Regions from separate parts of the Homo sapiens genome. Here region 2 is linked to region 1. The links are contacts of gene promoters, found by promoter capture Hi-C in blood cells and fetal thymus (Javierre and others, 2016). All regions are on one chromosome and are shown on one strand. The core of a region is centred on a gene start or on the middle of the fragment in contact, and the rest is flanking DNA. Distances in the headings are between cores, read along the strand shown. Region 1 holds the start of BHLHA15 (basic helix-loop-helix family member a15). Region 2 has its middle 20 kb from the start of LMTK2.

The links. The method cuts DNA at HindIII sites, captures the fragments that hold promoters and counts their contacts. A CHiCAGO score of 5 or more calls a contact.
Region 2: a contact is called between a fragment that was not itself captured here and the fragment with the promoter of BHLHA15 in region 1, in 1 of 17 cell types (neutrophils). The highest score is 6.0, in neutrophils.

The regions. Positions count from the first base shown.
Region 1 is chr7:98,209,009-98,213,614 of GRCh38, reverse strand. It overlaps BHLHA15 (basic helix-loop-helix family member a15), which reads right to left and starts at 2,176. Exons shown (of 2, transcript NM_177455.4): 1 at 2,117-2,176; 2 at 1-1,359. The coding sequence starts at 1,305. The coding sequence ends at 736. It overlaps LMTK2 (lemur tyrosine kinase 2), which reads right to left. Exons shown (of 14, transcript NM_014916.4): 14 at 3,977-4,606. RefSeq lists a silencer at 2,115-2,304. The HindIII fragment of the contact is 21,052 bases long and covers 1-3,810 here.
Region 2 is chr7:98,084,848-98,089,453 of GRCh38, reverse strand. No RefSeq gene overlaps it. Among named protein-coding and RNA genes, the nearest start is that of LMTK2, 20 kb to the left of the region's middle. The HindIII fragment of the contact is 834 bases long and covers 1,480-2,313 here.

The sequences.
Region 1 (4,606 bases), core at 927-3,426:
CCTGCTCCAGTTCCACAGCACCCCTCACACCCTGCCCCAGACCCTCCACAACCAGGCACAGCCTGGAGTCAACACATCCAGGAGCCCCAACTTGGGAGGAGGGAGGAAGAGACTCCAGCCCCTCCCCACCATTCAACTTTTAAGGATGAATTGGAGGTCATCTGATTAGAGTTTCTGGCAGCTCCAATCATCTCTGATTGGCCCCACTCCCCGAGCAGCCTTAGGCTCTGCCGGGCTTGTCCCGGGCCTCAGTTTACCCCAAATGAGGATGCTGAGCCCAGGCCCCATGTAGCCCTATAACAAAGGTTGGAGAGGGGGTCCTTGCTGGGGCTTTGGCCTTGGAAAACCTGCAGGTAAACCTTTTCCTGGGATCTCCCCTTGCCCAGAAGTCAGGGTGAAGAGACGTTAGTTCCAAGGCTAAGGAGGCCTTTCAACTCGGGCTGAGACTGCCTGGCTCAATGAAAAATCAGGATCCAACTGGGCCCTACCTAGAGGTTTGGGCCTCACGCCGCTGTCCAGGGCCACAGCCGCAACTAGGCCACTCGCTGGTCCCCAGCGGGGCAGGAAAAATTGCTCCAGGGAAGTGGCTGAATGTTCGGGGGAAAATGGAACCGCTGAGGCCGTGTCCTTGTGGGGTGTCACCGCCCATCTGGGGCTCGTGGCTTGGAGGGACTGGGGCTGGGAGGAGCAGGCCAGGCAGCTGCGGCCACCGCCACCCCCACCCAGGACTGGGCGCTAGGTGCCCTCTCGGAAGCTGTGGATCTGCGTGGAGTACCTCTGCAGGTGGCCCTGGGGCTGGGCCTCCGTGGCCCCCAACGCACCCCCAGCCACCTGCTGCTGCTGCTGGTAGTGCTGGTAGAGCTTGGGGCCCGGCCCCTCCAGGCCTGGGAGGCGGCTGCTGGACATGGTCAGGATGGTGGCCGTCAGCGATTTGATGTAGTTCTTGGCCAGCGTGAGCGTCTCGATCTTGGAGAGCTTCTTGTCCGCGCGCACGTGGGGGATGACTTCACGCAGGGCCTGGAAGGCGTTATTTAGCTTGTGCATCCGCTGCCGCTCCCTCTCGTTGCTCTCCAGCCGCCGCTGGATGCTGCTGTCACGACGGCCACCGGGCCCGGAGGGTCCTGGCCGCCTGCGCCTGCCCTCGCCCGGAGCCCTTGCTGCGGCCCGGGCCGGCCGGCTCCGCAGACCCTTGGCCGGCTCTGGCCCCGGGTTCGGCAGGGACCCGTCGGGCGTCCCCTCCCCGGGGGTGGCCTCTGTGTCCTGCACCGGGGCCCGGCGCCGTGGGGGCCGGTTCTTGGTCTTCATGGCCCTGGACTGGCTGTCCTAGGAGGTGGCGGCAGGAAGGTGAGGCCCTTGGAGCTGAAATCCAGAACACAGGACACTCTGTGGTCACCCCACATGGGCAGGGGACCCGCTGGGGTGCCGTCCCTGGCAGCCTCCTCCTTGCTGACAGCAATGGTACCAGGGGCAGGGGTTGGCGCTCTGCGACTGGAGGTCCTTCTGTTCACACGCTTAGCCCTGGGCTGACCCCACACACACCCACGCCCTTGCTTTACCTCAAACAGACCTCTGGAATCTGTCCCTGTCCCTGCGTCCCCCTTCCCCCAGGATGACTCATCCTGACCCCTAGATCTTCCTCTGGCTCATGCCCCTCACTGCCCCCAGAGTGCCTCCTGAGCTCGGTGACCTTTGACACTTTGCCTAGAATGCGTCCCCCACCCTAGCTTAGGGGGCGCCTCTGCCGGAGGCGGCACTGACTTCATCCCGTGGGCGGGCAGTGACTCCAGCCACCAGGCTCTCACTGTCCTGCCCCGCTGGACGTGACACGTGCAGGGACAGCACTGGGGCCAGAACCGCTGCGGACATGGGACAGCACTGGGGCCAGAACCGCTGCGGACATGGGGCAGCCGTGGAGGTCAGAGGTCGGCAATGGCCAGGGCCTGGCGGCAGCCCCCAATCCCACCACGTGGATGGGCCCCGTGGAGCCTCCAGACAGACCAGAAGTCCCCCACCCGGGTTTCCCCACAGCCCCCACAACCCCCACAACCCCACCGCCAGGTCCTGCCCCTGGGTCCCCTCCCCGCGGCCCCACCCGAGTTCCCAGCTCCCGGGTTACCTGGGGATCCGCGGCCACACGCGCCGAGGCTGCCCACGGGGGACAAGGACACGTCGCTTTAGCCGCCCCGGGAGGGGCCGCGGACGCATGCAAATGAGCCCTCGGGGCGGGGCCGGGGCGGGGCCGGGGTCCGGGTGTCCCGGCGGGCGCTGGGCAGCAGTGGCGGCACCTGCGGGCGGGCGGGCGGGAGGCCGGCGCCTGGGGCTCCCGGACCAGGTGGCCGCGCAGCCCCGCCCCCAGCTTCCGCCCCGCCCCCAAGATAGAAAACCTCCCCCGCCCGCCTCTCCCCATCCTCCCCCTACTGCCCCCCACCCTCGTCCCCCAAGACAGCCACCCCCGCCCGCCTCTCCCCACCATCCCCCGACAGCCCCCGACCCTCGTTCCCCCAGACAGCCTCCCCCACACGCTTCTCCCCATCCTCCCCCGACAGCCCCCCAACCGCCCCGAGATAGCTTCCCCCCATTCGTCTCTCCCCATTCTCCCGCTACAGCCCCCCCAAGACAGCCTGCGTCCCCACCTCCCCTACTCCCGTCCCCCGACAGCCTCCCCACAACCTGCTTTTCCCCATCCTCCCCCTCAATTTCCACTCGCGCCTTTCCCACCCGCCTACCCCATATCCGTGCCCGAGACAGCCTCCCCCCGCCCGCTTTCCCCGACCCTCCCCCTGACACAGCACCCCCGCATCCATGCCTCCCGCGATCCTCCTTGCCCGGCCTCTCCACTCGTGGCGGGGCCCGGGCCCATTCCGCCAATGGGAAACAGGTCTCTGGGAGCCGCCGGAAGGAGGGGCAGCCCCGATTCAGGCTCAGCACACAGATCCCAAGTCCCAGGAGCACTCCGGGACGAGCCGCTCCGCGAAAACGCGGGCATCTCCCAGGGGATCCCCCGCCCCGCCGCCCGGGATGTTTAGGGGAACCTGGGGCTCCTACGGGCTGGGGGCGGAGCCCGAGTTGGGGTGGGGGTGGGGGGCTCCTTGGGCAGGTGTGCAGTCCTTGGGAACGCCTGTTTTGTTTGTTTGTTTGTTTTTGAGACGGAGTTTCGCTCTTGCTGCCCAGGCTGGCGTGCAATGGAGCGAGATGATCTCGGCTCACCGCAACCTCCGCCTCCCGGGTTCAAGCGATTCTCCTGCCTCAGCCTCCCGAGTAGCTGGGATTACAGGCATGCACCACCACGCCCAGCTAATTTTTGTATTTTTAGTAGAGACGGGGTTTCTCCACGTTGGCCAGGCTGGTCTTCAACTCCTGACCTCAAGTGATCCACCCGCCTCGGCATCCCAAAGTGCTGGGATTACATGCGTGAGCCACCACGCCCAGCCAAAGCAGCATCTTGCTCAGGGACTATTCGGGGCTGCTAGGGGTGCGGTGACTGCACGCTGCTGGGGGTGCGGTGAGTGTCACGCTGGCTGGCAGGCCTGGGCTCCACACTCATGGGTCTCGCCGCTCTGTCTCAGTACCTCTGGGTGGGAACTCAGAGGGGCCATAGTGGGGCGGGGGGCGGGCACAGAAAGGCTAGCTTGGAGCCAAGGTTAGTTAGTTCTTCTCTTGGCCTAAAGCTCATTTGAGGCTGGGCCAAATGAGGTCCTTGGAAATGAAAATGCTTCCGAAATTCATGAGTGCAAAGGCATGGTTTATAGACATGCTTCAAGGTGGCAGGAACACTAAACAGGTTTGGTTTTCCAGTGGTTATACAAAGCTTTATGTCCTCAGGAGTGCGGGGAGTTTAGGTCTGTCACACAAGCTCCAGAGGGACCAGGGCAGGGGCCTGGAACACAGGCTGCGGGCGCTCACAGCAGGGCAGGGCCAGGCCACCCACCCAGGTGGCCCTTGCACGGTGGACAAAACACAGAAGAAACGCGGCCAACAGAGTTTATAAATATATAACTATATTTATTTTGAATATTAAATAGTTTTTAAATTACAAGCAATTTATTGAATCACACTATGCATCAATATACAGTAAAAATCTTACAATTTAAAAATGTACACAATTTAAACTGAAAGTTCATTGACTATTATATTGCCATGAACCTCTTCTGCCTGTGTTAAAGCACAGCAGGGAGGCCTGGTGGGTGTGACGGCCCCCTACGTCCTCCTCTGCAGACGGAATCCGACGGTGGATCCATACACCAGCCCCATGATCAAGATCCCGCTCGGCCCACGTAGGCCTGAGTGCTTAACCAGCACGTGTCCACACCGGTCAAACTGATCTTCACAGGCTGTTGGTAATTCAACACTGTCAATGCATCTTTAAGAATTTCTTTATAGATGAAAGAGAATGTTCTTTGTTAATAAAGACTTGAGCCAACCCCATTGCTACTTAGGAATATTGTTTTGGAGATTTCCATCGGAAGTCACTGCGTATACCCATTCTTTTTTTAAGGCTACTTCCCATAAGGCTCATGTTTTGAAGCCACTCTAACAGAAGCCCAACCTCTGGCGTCTAACCCTTGGTTCACTTCTGAATTTTCAGATGATGGGCTGAGTTAAGGAA
Region 2 (4,606 bases), core at 647-3,146, 120 kb after region 1:
AGATGGCTGCGTTCTCTCTGACATGGTCTTTCCTCCGGCCACATGCATACCTGGTGTCTTTTCCTGTCTTCTTTTTTCTATTATTTATTTATTTATTTTATTTAATTAATTAATTTATTTATTTTTGAGATGGAATCTCCCTCTGTCACCCAGGCTGAAGTGCAGTGGCACAATCTCGACTCACTGCAAGCTCCGCCTCCCGGGTTCACGCCATTCTCCTGCCTCAGCCTCCCGAGTAGCTGGGACTACAGGTGCCTGCCACCACACCTGGCTAATTTTTTGTATTTTTAGTAGAGACGAGGTTTCACTGTTAGCCAGAATGGTCTCGATCTCCTGACCTCATGATCCTCCCGCTTCAGCCTCCCAAAGTGCTGGGATTACAGGCATAAGCCACAGCACCCCGCCTATTTATTTATTTTTTTTGAGACAGGGTCTTGCTCTGTCGCCTAGCTTGGAGTACGCAATGGCATGACCATAGCTCACTGCAGCCTCGACCTCCCCAGGCTCAAGTAATCCTTCCACCTCAGCCTCCCAGGTAGCTGGTATTACAGCCATGCACCACCACGTCTGGCTGAGTTTTTTTTACATTTTTTTGTAGAGATGGGTTTTTGCTGTGTTGCCCAGGCTGGTCTCCAACTCCTGGGCTCAAGTGATCCTCCCACCTCAGCCTCCCAAAGTGCTGGGATTACAGGAATGAGCCACCGCACCCAGCCAAGAGCCACTTGTTAACCCCTAGCCGGCACATCAGTGGCCTCGCCATAGGACACCCTCCTGCGGGTCTTTACGATCACCTTTGCTTGACTTGAATCCCTGTCATGGTTGCGTGACTTTAATTCAGCATTAGGCAAATAAGGAGACCAAGTAGGTTAAAAGTCATTTGACTCTCCCTAGTTCTCTGCCAATCAAAGGCTGTGTGCCTCATTCTGGATGATAGCCGACTTTATCTGCATAATGATGTGTGGTATATCATTAATGCAAATGATACATCAATTACCAAACTGGGCAATGATGAGATATCATGATGGACAATTGGCTGTCTTTCCAAATGCCTTTGTGCAAAGTCCTTACCTGTTGTTGCCTCTAAACCTGTGTAACTCAGGGACAGCTCACCAGCTGCCAACAGAGCCTTGAGCCACCACCCATTTTTGGAGGGGGTGCGGAAACCACCCAATATGGTAAAAACGTGCTAACACATTTAAGTCTAACAAATTAACACTTTTAATGTACATAATTTATACAGCTATATAATGATGCTATGCACAAAATAATTACAGCAGGATTGATAAAAAGTACACAGCAGATAGTGAGATTCGGGAATGAAATACCATTTTAAAATTGTATTATGAACATTTTTTTTCCAAGCTCATTAGTATTCATGCCTTCCTTTCGAGGTAAGTTTTATTCGACAATGACTTGCAGATCACTTTTGATGTGTCAGACACTGCTGTAAGCACTTTATAAGTAATAACTCTTTAAGCTTTATCTAATTTTAGAATATTTTTATCACCCACAAAAGAAACTCTACCCGTTAGTTGTCATTCCCCATCCATTCCCCCTGGTAACCACTAATCTACTTCCTGCTTCTATGGATTTGCCTGTTCTGGGCTTTTTTGTTTTTATTTTTGGTAGAGACAGGGTCGTGCTATGTTGCCCAGGCTGGTCTTGAACTCCTGGCCTCAAGTGATCCTCCCTCCTTGGTCTCCCACAATGCTGGGATTACAGGCAGGAGCCACTGCATTCAGCTGATTCTTGACATTTTATATAAATGAAATCATACAATAGGTTGCTTTTGGTGATTGGCTTAATCTATCCTTATTCCCATTTTGTGGATGAGGAGACAGAAACAGAGAAGATAAGGACCTTGGCCAAGGTCACATAGCTAGTAAGTGACAGAAGCAGGGTTCACACTCAGGTAGCCTGGCTCCGGCATCCTTGCTAAGTATCAGAGTCAAAACCGAATAACGTCAAAAGTGTACATTGAGGCCCGTCTCATGCCTCGGTGCCTCATGCCTGTAATCCCAGCACTTTGGGAGGCTGAGGTGGGAAGATCACTTGAGACCAAGAGTTCAAGACTGCCCTGGGCAACATAGCAAGGCCCCATCTCTACAGAAAAAAAAAAAAAAAAAAAAAATTAGCCGGCATGGCTGCGCACACCTGTAGTCCCAGCTACTCAGGAGGCTGAGGCAGGAGGATTGTGATCACTTGAGCCTAAGAGATCAAGGCTGTAGTGAGCCATGATTGAACCACTGCACTCCAGCCTAGGCAACAGAGCAAGATCCTGTCTCAACAACAACAAAGTATACGTTAAAAGCTTTTTGCGAAGATGAGGTGTGGACCAAATTGCTCCTGGATACCCCTCAGGTGAGAGACCCTGTTAAGGTTTGCTTTCTGGTGAGATCGGGGCTGGGGAGTAGGGTGAAGAGCAGAGGTGGAGAACAAGCTCTACCCTGAAGTTAATAGTTGCTGAGTAAACCTTTGTCCTTAGAGAAGATAGACTCAATACAATTACATGTATTTTAAAACAGTAATATTAAAAATTAGCTGGGCATGGTGGCACATGCCTGTGGTCCCAGCTACTCAGGAGGCTGAGGTGGGAGGATCCCTTGAGCCCCAGTGGTAGAGGCTGCAGTGAGCCACGATCACACCACTGCACTCCAGCCTGGGTGACACAGCAAGACCCTATCTTAAAAACAAAAAGAAAAAATTTAAAAAAGAAAAGAATTGTAAGTTTCTGGGGACCACGGGCTTCTCTTGCGCAGGGCACATGTTCTGCTCACATCTGCTCCTTACCAATTCTTTGACAATTATTTCAACACACACAGGAAGTGCCCGTGATGTGTCAGGTTATGTTCCAGGGAGGCACCAGGGTAAACAAGAAGATGACTTGTTAGACTTCTAGGACAAGGAGAGCCCAGGCCGCTGTGGAAAACTCTACCTGCCTCAGCCACTCTGCTGGCCACACGACTTTTGCCCCAAGCCCATAAAACCGAGGGAGTCACCTGCTGCGTCAGTTTCTACCAGGCCAGCTGGAACAGGCTGGGCGAGTTGGTGCCAGACTGGCACATGGGCAGGTAGGGCAGGGCCCGTTGTCTTCCCAGGGATTAATCAGCTCATGCAGCGTCATCCTCTGTCCCTTCCTTGGCATTGGACCAGAACGGGGACTGGAGCCTTCCAGCAAAGGGAGTCCTTGGGGAGCTCCTCCAGCAAGACCCGCCTGGGACTCTCCACCACCCCATGCAATGCCACCCTGTCTCATCCACGTATCTCAGTGAGGGGCAGCGGGAAAGAGGAATAGGGGGAGCTTTTTCTCTGTCTGTCTGATTGTAAGCCCCTACTTCAAGATACTCTAAGGAGTCGCTTCTACCTTCCCCAAATCGCTGGGGAGCAAACGCTCCATGTGACCCTATAAGGTGAGAAGTGAGGAAGTGACTCCCCTGTAACCCAGCAGTCCAGAATCCCGGGTCCAAGGTCACCCAAATCAACCATCTCATCACTGTTTGCAGTTGCTCTCTGGGTCTGCCTTTGGCTTCTTTTTGGGTTCAGAGCCCAGCAGGAAGCCAGGCCTCACCAGCAGGCCCCCACTCCCACTGCTGGGGGGCCTAGGCTGGGAGGCCCCAGGGAACTTCCTGCACCTCCCTCTGCCACACCTGCTTGTACCTGAAATTGTTTATTAGGGCGGTTCCAACAGCCACCAACAGGCTTGGCCGGAATTTGTGGTTCTTTCTGTGTAACACTCAATGGCTTTATTATTTAATAGCAGAAGGAGTTGTGGCTACTTATTTAATTGCCAAACTTTGTTAGAAATGGGGCTTTTCGCTGGGCATGGTGGCTCACGCCTGTAATCCCAGCACTTTGGGAGGCCAAGGTGGGCAGATCACGAGGTCAGGGGATCAAGACCATCCTGGCTAACACAGTGAAACATTGCCTCTACTAAAAATACAAACAATTAGCTGGGCATGGTGGTACATGCCTGTAATCCCAGCTACTCGGGAGGCTGAGGCAGGAGAATCGCTTCAACCCGGGAGGCGGAGTTTGCAGTGAGCTGAGATCGCGCCACTGCACTCCAGCCTGGACAACAGAGCGAGACTCCGTCTCAAAAACAAACAAACAAACAAAACAAACAAACAGAAATGGGGCTTTTCGCTGGGTGCGGTGGCTCATGCCTGTAATCCCAGCACTTTGGGAGGCCAAGGCAGGTGGATCACCCGAGGTCAGGAGTTCAAGACCAGCCTGTCCAACATGGTGAAACCTTGTCTCTACCAAAAATACAAAAATTAGCCGGCTGTGGTGGCGGGCATCTGTAATCCTAGCTACTTGGGAGGCTGAGGCAGGAGAATCACTTGAACCCGAGAGGTGGAGGTTGCAGTGAGCTGAGATCGCGCCACTGCACTCCAGCCTGGGTGACAGAATGAGACTCCTTCTCAAAAAAAAAAAAAAAAGAAAGAAATTGGGCTTTTCACTGCCCCTTGTACACCCAGGTTGTAATCACAACCCACAACTCATCTGCTAAGAGGGCAAGCGTGTTTGCCCTTCTCTGATTCCCCATGAATAAGCCATAAACAATTGCAGACTTGGTTCAGGATGCCTGGACAGCTGTGTGTCCCAG